Regions from separate parts of the Homo sapiens genome. Here all the other regions are linked to region 2. The links are contacts of gene promoters, found by promoter capture Hi-C in blood cells and fetal thymus (Javierre and others, 2016). All regions are on one chromosome and are shown on one strand. Each heading gives the region's core, a stretch centred on a gene start or on the middle of the fragment in contact. The rest is flanking DNA. Distances are from core to core; before and after follow the strand shown. Region 1 overlaps MSANTD4 (Myb/SANT DNA binding domain containing 4 with coiled-coils). Region 2 holds the start of BIRC2 (baculoviral IAP repeat containing 2). Region 3 overlaps AASDHPPT (aminoadipate-semialdehyde dehydrogenase-phosphopantetheinyl transferase).

Region 1 (2,866 bases), core at 191-2,690, 3.7 Mb before region 2:
GTAAGTGAACTACATCTCATTCCTGTTTCCAACTAGTGAAGAACGATTGTGAAATGGGATTTTAGAAAATGGCTGTTCTCTGTGATTGGGCATAGAAGGTTTGTAAGTTTTAGAGACTGCAGCTGTTGAATCCTTTCTGCTAAGAGAGCGATGACAGGCAATAGAAAAGGGATAGTGTTTGACATCTAAAATGACATATTTTCACATTTTATGAGGTGTTATATCCCCAGCACCAAAAATAGTGCCTTTCACACAGTAGGAGCTCAGTAAGTATTTTTTGAGGAAATTATTGGGGAATGAATGGATGGTAGAAAACCCAAGCTTCTGTTACTTGGATACCGGCATATAAAGGAGAGGACAGGAAGACAAACATTTCTGGAAATGGCTTTTATCCAGGTAAGCATATCTACAGAACTTCAACAACTCAAGATGCATCAATGCTGGCACTTTCTTGCACTTAATCAGAAAATATCAAGGTTTTAGAAGAAGATTTTCACACAATTAAGCCAAGACTGGGTATCTAAGGTGCATCCCAATATCAATTTCAGTCAGGTTAAAAATGTATTAAAGCCCATTTGATTAAATGAAATAGTTCATCAGTTCAGAATAGATCAGTCAGGACAACGGGATACCACTTTGTAAGTTAGAGATATGGAGTTAGGAATTGTTGGTCAAAAATAGGCCCTGCAAATAGCAACAGCTGCTGTCAAACTTTAAAAATATATTGACTCAGTGGTACTTCAAAAGGACTGCTATTTCTACCATGTACCAATACATTTACAACAATGCGATTTCTAAATTGATCTCAGATTCTAAGAGCAAAATCTTACGGTGGATATCTGCATAAATTTGGACTCTCGACAACTTCAATCATTTTTATTATATACTTATATTGGTTATATATTTATATGTTACTACAGTAACAGTTCTTCCATATTAATGGTAGCCTGCTTGAATTTCAAAAAACTTTCACAGTTATATTTGTCTCTTTCAGTTCATTTTTAGCAAATAATAGTCTTATTAAGCCAGAATTCGCTTAGTAAGATTTGCTGCTTGGCACTATCCTAATTTTCCAGCTTTAATTCCTGATACTTCTTTCTTTTATTTCTGTCCCTCATTAGTCTGTTTTATAAGACCCAAATCAAATGCTGATTCTGACTCAAAACATTCCTTGATCCCATCAAAGATTTGTCTTTCTTATGAATATCCAGAGTATTTTGTTAGTATTTCTTTATTGTAGTTTTTGTATATTTGCATTATTCATCCAGTGAAGAAATATTTGTTAATTACATTCAGATACTGTACTGGGCAATGGATAATAGCTGACATTTGTGGGCTTACTATGTCTTAGGCATGATAAACTTCTTAATCGGTTTATCTCTTTTAATCTTCAAAACATCACGAGTATTAGTCTATTATTCCCATTTATAGATGAAGAAACAAGTTTAAGAGGTTAAGTAATTCGCTGGAGATCACAGAGCTAGTTAAGTGGTGGAATTGGCATACAGCCTTAGGTAGTCTGTATTCACAACCTTCAGGTTACAGACTTCATTACAATTTGTTTATGTACTTTTTTTATGCATCTGTGTTTTACTAAGTTGCAAATTATTTGATAGCAGGAATAATATATTCGTATCTGATCTCTTATTGCTCCTAATGTAAATCAGTGGTGTAATAAAGCTGATAGTGGAAGCACATAGGGAGGACATCAGACTTAGGTGAATGGGAACAGTGAAGAGATCCTGGAACAGAAGACATTTAAACAAGAGTGCTGAAGGATGAGTAGGCATTGGCCTGACGAAAAGGCAGACACCATGGAAATGGGGAAGATGACCTGGGGAAATATATGTGTGATAGTCCAAGGTCAGGGACCATGATGGCTTGAGTTGTGCTGTTCCAGTATGGTAGCCAGTAGCCTTACATTATTGAATGTAAATATCTCAATAATTGTTTATATTGATTATATTTCAAAATAACATTTTGGATATATTGGGTTAAATAAAATACTCACTTTTACCTGTTTCTTTTTACCGTTTTAATGTGGCTACTTGGGGATTTAAAATTACATATAGGGCTCTTACATTTCTATTGGACAGCACTGATCTAGAATTTAGAGGGATTTGAAAATGACTGGTATTGTGTTTGTGTGCCACCTACATGTGAGTACATGTTTGATGAGGAAGGTGGATTGGGAAAGTAGGTTGGGAGTTGGTACTGGAGGTGATGGATAAGACCAGAAAAGGTAGATGGGAAAGTGTAAAGGTAGGGTTCAGATAGGGTTTACAATAGGAAGAGAGGAAGAGCAAGGGAAGTAAACTTACCTCTTAAGTGCAATGGAAAGCCTTGAAAGGTTTTAAACACTCAGTATATACCTATTGAATGACACAGTGTCCTAATTAATTCATCTAATAATGCATGTTCCTGATTTATACTACTAATTCAGTCATAATTTTTCCTAATGGAGATATGGATAGGGGTCTAAAGACATTCTACTTAGAAGAAAATTTGGTTCTCAAGAGAGCAGTCCTTTTCTTCTTATATCTAAATCACCTAAGCTTTCATTCATTCTTTTGATGTGTTTCCAACAAATAGGAGTGTGAATTGGTCCTACAACTAGCATATTCTTCTTGCATTTGACATAACATTCTCTTGGGCATATTTTTCCATAAATAAACCAGCTTTGTCTGTATTTTAAGTCTTTTGTGGCAGATGAGGTCTTTTCTTAATAATCTCCTAAAGGAAGTTTCTTAGGAGCTACACCATTTGCTCTCTGCCTTGCCTTTCTGTACATATTTCACCAAGTAAACTCTTAACATTGATTCTCTAGTTGGGTGGTTCTCAATCCTGGCTGCAAATGAGAAGCACT
Region 2 (2,700 bases), core at 120-2,619:
AAAAAGTATTTTAGAAAACTGTATGTGCATGCCAAATAGAACTTACATACTCTTCAATTTATTCAGTAAAGTCTAAGAATAATTCACACTTTAGATAATACATCTTAATTCCAGCAATTTGTCACAACTTTCTAAATGAAAAAGCTATTAATTAAAATAAGTAAATGCAACATACTCCCCATAGCACTAACTATACGTGTCTTTAAAACGCACAACTTCAGAGACAGATGGAAATTTTCACACAGGAAACATTTTGTCCTTGCTCTCCTCCCCTTTTCTGGCCTAAAGGTAACTCTGGCACTCTGCTGGAGGCAAAGGCACATTGGTTAAAAAGACAGACAGACACTCCACTACACCCTGTCAGCAGCAGTACAGCAGGAATTAAGACAGCAACGTTAGTTTGTAATATCAAGTCTCTCCACGACTAGGAAAACTGCAGTAAAATGCACCACGAGTTCATTAATATAAACTCTTAAACTCTGCCATTCCCTTACAATTTCAAAGCAACGACCACAGAAAGCAACTCGAAAACAAAACCTAACACAGTGGCCTGTGAAACAGTGGCTCCGGCACTACGACCACTGGCATGATTGCTTTAATTACACCCGGTCTTATATCCTATCTTTAAATGAAAGATTTTTATCTACGTGCACCGCACTGCTGCATTCTCTTTACGCAAATTGCAGCTGGGCAGGGGATAGGATGGAAGGGAAAAGAATAGAAACTATGGGATTTACCCAATAATTTCCCAGAGTTGCTTCTCACAATACACAACAGACGACTACTGGAATGACAGAGCGCAGTGGCAACTATGAAATATGAAATATCGCCGCCACCGAAATATCTTCGTTTCAATGTATTACATTAAAAGAACGCCGAGGGCTAAGTTTAAAACCTTGCAAAAACTGCGAGAAAACATCTTGGTCAAAGTCCAAGGGCCAGAAGAGTGGGCGGCGGCCAGAGGCTTGAAAACAAGTCATTTTAAAAATCGCTTTGACTGCAAGTCTCGAAGTTGGGGCTTCCGAATCCAATAAAACCTTGGCGAGAGTAGAAAGCAGAGAGCCCCCGGCGACCCTCGACCCTTGGCCGAAGGGCCTCAGGCCCCGTCCTTCCTCGTTCGCCGCCACATCAGGGAAGTGGGCCCCCGCGGGCCCTCGCGTCCCCACCCGCCCCACGCCGCCCGAGCCCGGAAGGAGCAGCACTCACCGCAGTGCGGGCGCAGCAAACACGGAAGCTGCGCGGCTGCCTAGAGGCCTCCGCAGAGCCGGGAATCAGCGGCGCCGACAAGGAGATACGGCCCGCTCGGCTCGGATCAGCCCGGGCGCTCCCGAAGCCCGCCGCCCCATCCGGGCTCACTCTGACGCACGATGACGTCAGCGCGCCCGGCCGAGGACCAGCGTTAGCCGCCGCGCGAGGGCGCCCGGGAGGCTGGGGCCGGAAAGCGGAACCGAGAGCGCTTTCCGCCGTGCGGCGATGAACCTCCGGGAAAGACGCTGGGAGGCCAGGATGCCCGGCGCAACTGGACGCTCATCGGGAGTCACGGGGTCGGCCCTCAGGGGAACGGGGACTATCCGTATCAACTCGGTGTTTGTTCGTTTTCTTCACCTTGCGGTTTGTGCCCTCTCCACATTTCCTCTCTGTGTCTACCATTCTCCTGGGGGACGTGGCAAACCGTGAGCCGCTGCGTTTGAGTTTTGGGAAACCCTGCGGAAACGCCCTGGCGCCGGTGGTTTTGCGCGTCCTACCCTGTGTCACCTCAGGGTTATGATCTGGCCCCTGGCAAGGCTCCCCAAGTGTGATGCCTCCCCCCGTCCAGATGACTGCATTTTGAGGATGGAGTCAGTCTGGTGGCATTTTTTGCTTAAGTAAACAATTGTAACCGTTTGTGTAGCATCAGCGTTCAACAGCTGCCTGTGCAAATCGAAAAAAGCGAAACTTTGGAAACTAGGAAGCATCAGATGAATAATTCTGAAGACTTGATGTCAACGGGAGTATCTTGTTTTTAAACTTTTGGTTTTCTGTTCTGGAGACAAACAGTTCATATGCACTAAAGAAAAAAGTGTCATTATTTCAGATGCTCATTGCCAGCAAAGAGAACTGTATTGCAAGTCAGGCTTCACTCCCAGTATTTTCTGAATGTTTCAATAAAATGAAATATATACGTCTGCCTGTGTATTGGTGTACATGCACATATAATTGTACATAAACCAGAGAGGAGCCCAATTTTTTTTAATGCTTAGGTAATAGAAAATTTGTAAATAAAAACCCTTGGCTTTTGCTAGTCATGGACCTTTTGTATCCCCCCGCCATACTCCCCCAATAGTGCCATAGACACAGTGTCGTGCAGTAAATGTTTGTGGTATGACAACCAACGAACGACTTTTGAAGTTGACGCTCTTTGCCCGTTGAATCCGATGCTTGCTTCTCTCTGGGGAACTCCAAGGGGCAAATATTTAAAAAACTTCCAAATAGCAAGCCACTTAATTAGGGAGCCGGGGGAATTCCAAGACCCTGAACCATTTCCCATTTCCTGTCTGTGTCATTTCTGCCTGCCAGTCAGTCACAGAACAGGAGGTCTACTGTTCCAATGTTAATAGTCAAAGAAAGTGAGTGTAACAGTTTGTAATACAGAGAAAAGAAATGCCATGGCTCCCAATGACTAAAAACTTCCAAAAATGCACCTGGGGCTTGGTAGTAGTT
Region 3 (2,700 bases), core at 163-2,662, 3.7 Mb before region 2:
AAGAATGTACCGTCCTGGCATATGGTAGGCTATATACTAGGTATGTTCTCTCCTGCACGTCCACAGCAACAGTTGGGAGAACAGGTAGAGGGAGGGAAATGAGCTGCACTCAGCAGAAATGGTTAATGCACCATGAAAGAAAAAGACTCTCTGAGTTCCTAGTGGATTCTTACCTATAGGACAAGACAGAGTAATGGAATTGACTCTTTCAATGCACTAATGATAACCCCCAAAAGCCAACTCTGTCTTTAGAGTTGGCAATCTAGTAACAATGCCTAGTACAAAACAGAGTACTTTCCTTGCTGCTCTCCTAAGTTTTGCCTAGCATCATTTAGCAAGACTCTTAGGAAAAATCCCTTGCTCAATCTCCTCACTTACTACAATAAGTAGAGCAATTCAAAGAATCTCCAATGAAGCAAATCAGTGTCTACTTCCCATCTTCATTAAGAAATCATGCTGTGTCCATTGATGCTTCAGGAATCAGTAGCATGGTAACAACACTAGTGACAATTGGAAAATCTCTCTTCCTTTCTGTGTTACTGGACATAGCAACAGCTTTTTCACAACAAAATAAAGAAAAGGAAAAGGCCTAGACATTGTGATTAGTCAAGTAAGATCAACTAAAAAAAACTGGTGGGGGGAGGTCTAATAACACAATTAACAGGAAAACTAAATCTTAAATTTTTGCTCAATTGTCTTTCCATCATTTATTTTTCTTTTTTATTATTATTATTATTATACTTTAAGTTCTAGGGTACATGTGCACAATGTGCAGGTTAGTTACATATGTATACATGTGCCATGCTGGTGTGCTGCACCCATTAACTCATCATTTAGCATTAGGTGTATCTCCTAATGCTATCCCTCCCCCCTTCCCCCACCCACAACAGTCCCCAGAGTGTGATGTTCCCCTTCCTGTGTCCATGTGTTCTCATTGTTCAATTCCCATCTATGAGTGAGAACACCATCATTTATTAAAAGCTTCAGTTATTAATTACTTGTTTATCTAGCATTGACCATAGCCAACACTGCCCATCAAGTTAACTGGTAACAAAATCTGTTTCTCAGAAGTATCATTTCCAAGCAGATACCAACCCACTGGGCCAATTATTACCAGGTAGTTGTGCTGACTGCATTCTAAAAAACAATGGCCTTTCCATTTCTGATTTTAGAAAAAGTTCCTGTAATGACAGCAGAAAGCTACAAGAATATATGGGCTAATTCCCATGCTAAGAATCCTCTATAGCAGCAATTTTTTTAGAGTAAGCCACCTATGTCCCTGTTGAATACCAGATCCTTTCCCAAGAAAAATGCACATGTGCATATCATACAAAATGTAGCATACAGTTTCAGGAGGTAAACAAAATTCCTGGAATCTTATCCAGGGAATCAGATCAACAATCTGTTATAAGGTTTCCAAAATCACTAGTAGGGCCTTGTTCTGAACAAACCTGAGAATAGAGTTGTACTGGAAAGGTTTATTAGCAGGTAAGAGAAAGAGTAGCTAGTAGGAAAATGCAAGGTAAGGACAATAAAAGCAAAAGGGAGAAGAGATTCACAACCACACTGAAGCCTATACTCTAACAGCACAGTGTTTATTCATTCATTTGACAAATATTTTACTATTACATGCTAGGCAAGGTACTAAGAGATGTGATAGTGATCAAACTCTGATGTGGCTAACATGGTTCTTGCTCTCACACAGCTTTTAAGTATCAGGAAAAGATAATCAATCATCCTGATGAATAATCAACTGAGATACATTACTGGAATAAGGAAAATATATTTTATGAGAACCTACAACAAAAGAACCTAGCTTAGATTGAAGGCTCACAAAGCTTCCCTAAAGTAAGGTTAAGGTGAAATCTAACAAGTAAATAGGAGTTCTCTATGCAGAAATGGGAGTGAGAGATAAAATTAATACAAGCCTTACAGACTGAGAGAGCCACATATTCAAACCACATATGGTGCAGGCAGTATGGAGATTAGATAGTTTTACTATGAAATTAGGAAGATGTGGGTTCTTTTATTAATAGCTTTCTTCTTAGCCTGTTACTTATTTTCTTTAAAAATAGCAGTATATGCATCATAGGGTAGTTGAGAGAATTAAATCACAGAATATGTCTAAAGCACTATGTAAAATGCCATGACACGTGGTTAAGTGTTCATTAAATGTTAGTGATGATGACAAATATACAGCAGTTAAGAGAACCTGTATTTAGTATGTATTAAATTGCCTGGGTACATTCAACTTCACCACAAATGTTAGTGGTCCTTAAAGCCACCACTAACAAATTTCTAAGGCAATATATAAGCAACTTAAATATTTTAATAATGCTTGCTCCTCATTTTTACTTACATAAATGGGCTAAAAAGAGATGTATTTAGATGCAGAACAAAGAGTCGCCCGTTGGTATCCACTGGGGACTGGTTCCAGGACCCTCCTCAGATACCAAAATCTGCGCATGCGGCCCTATGGAACCTGCATATATGAAGTCAGCCCTCCACATCCTCAGGTTTCATATCCTGCAAATACTGAATCTTGATACACGTTTGATTGTGGATGCAGAATCTATGGGGACAGAGGGCCAACTACTGAAAAAAATTCACATGAGTAGACCCATGCAGTTCAAACTTGTGTTGTTCATGTGTCAACTGTATACGTTATCTCTACATAAGGACTACAATGTACTTTACTAT

What was found. Contacts are between HindIII fragments. The CHiCAGO score rates a contact against its expected background, and 5 or more counts as called.
Region 1: a fragment that was not itself captured here is called in contact with the fragment with the promoter of BIRC2 in region 2 in 2 of 17 cell types (total CD4 T cells and naive CD8 T cells); the score reaches 7.5 in total CD4 T cells.
Region 3: a fragment that was not itself captured here is called in contact with the fragment with the promoter of BIRC2 in region 2 in 2 of 17 cell types (total CD8 T cells and total CD4 T cells); the score reaches 7.8 in total CD8 T cells.

Annotation. Positions count from the first base shown.
Region 1 is chr11:106,018,492-106,021,357 of GRCh38, reverse strand. MSANTD4 (Myb/SANT DNA binding domain containing 4 with coiled-coils) reads left to right here. Exons shown (of 3, transcript NM_032424.3): 1 at 1-396. Among named protein-coding and RNA genes, the nearest start is that of MSANTD4, 2.3 kb to the left of the region's middle. The HindIII fragment of the contact is 2,234 bases long and covers 324-2,557 here.
Region 2 is chr11:102,345,883-102,348,582 of GRCh38, reverse strand. It overlaps BIRC2 (baculoviral IAP repeat containing 2), which reads right to left and starts at 1,369. Exons shown (of 9, transcript NM_001166.5): 1 at 1,207-1,369. RefSeq lists an enhancer at 748-817. The HindIII fragment of the contact is 3,484 bases long and covers 1-2,700 here.
Region 3 is chr11:106,080,042-106,082,741 of GRCh38, reverse strand. The region is part of intron 2 of AASDHPPT (aminoadipate-semialdehyde dehydrogenase-phosphopantetheinyl transferase); the gene reads right to left. Among named protein-coding and RNA genes, the nearest start is that of AASDHPPT, 3.7 kb to the right of the region's middle. The HindIII fragment of the contact is 857 bases long and covers 984-1,840 here.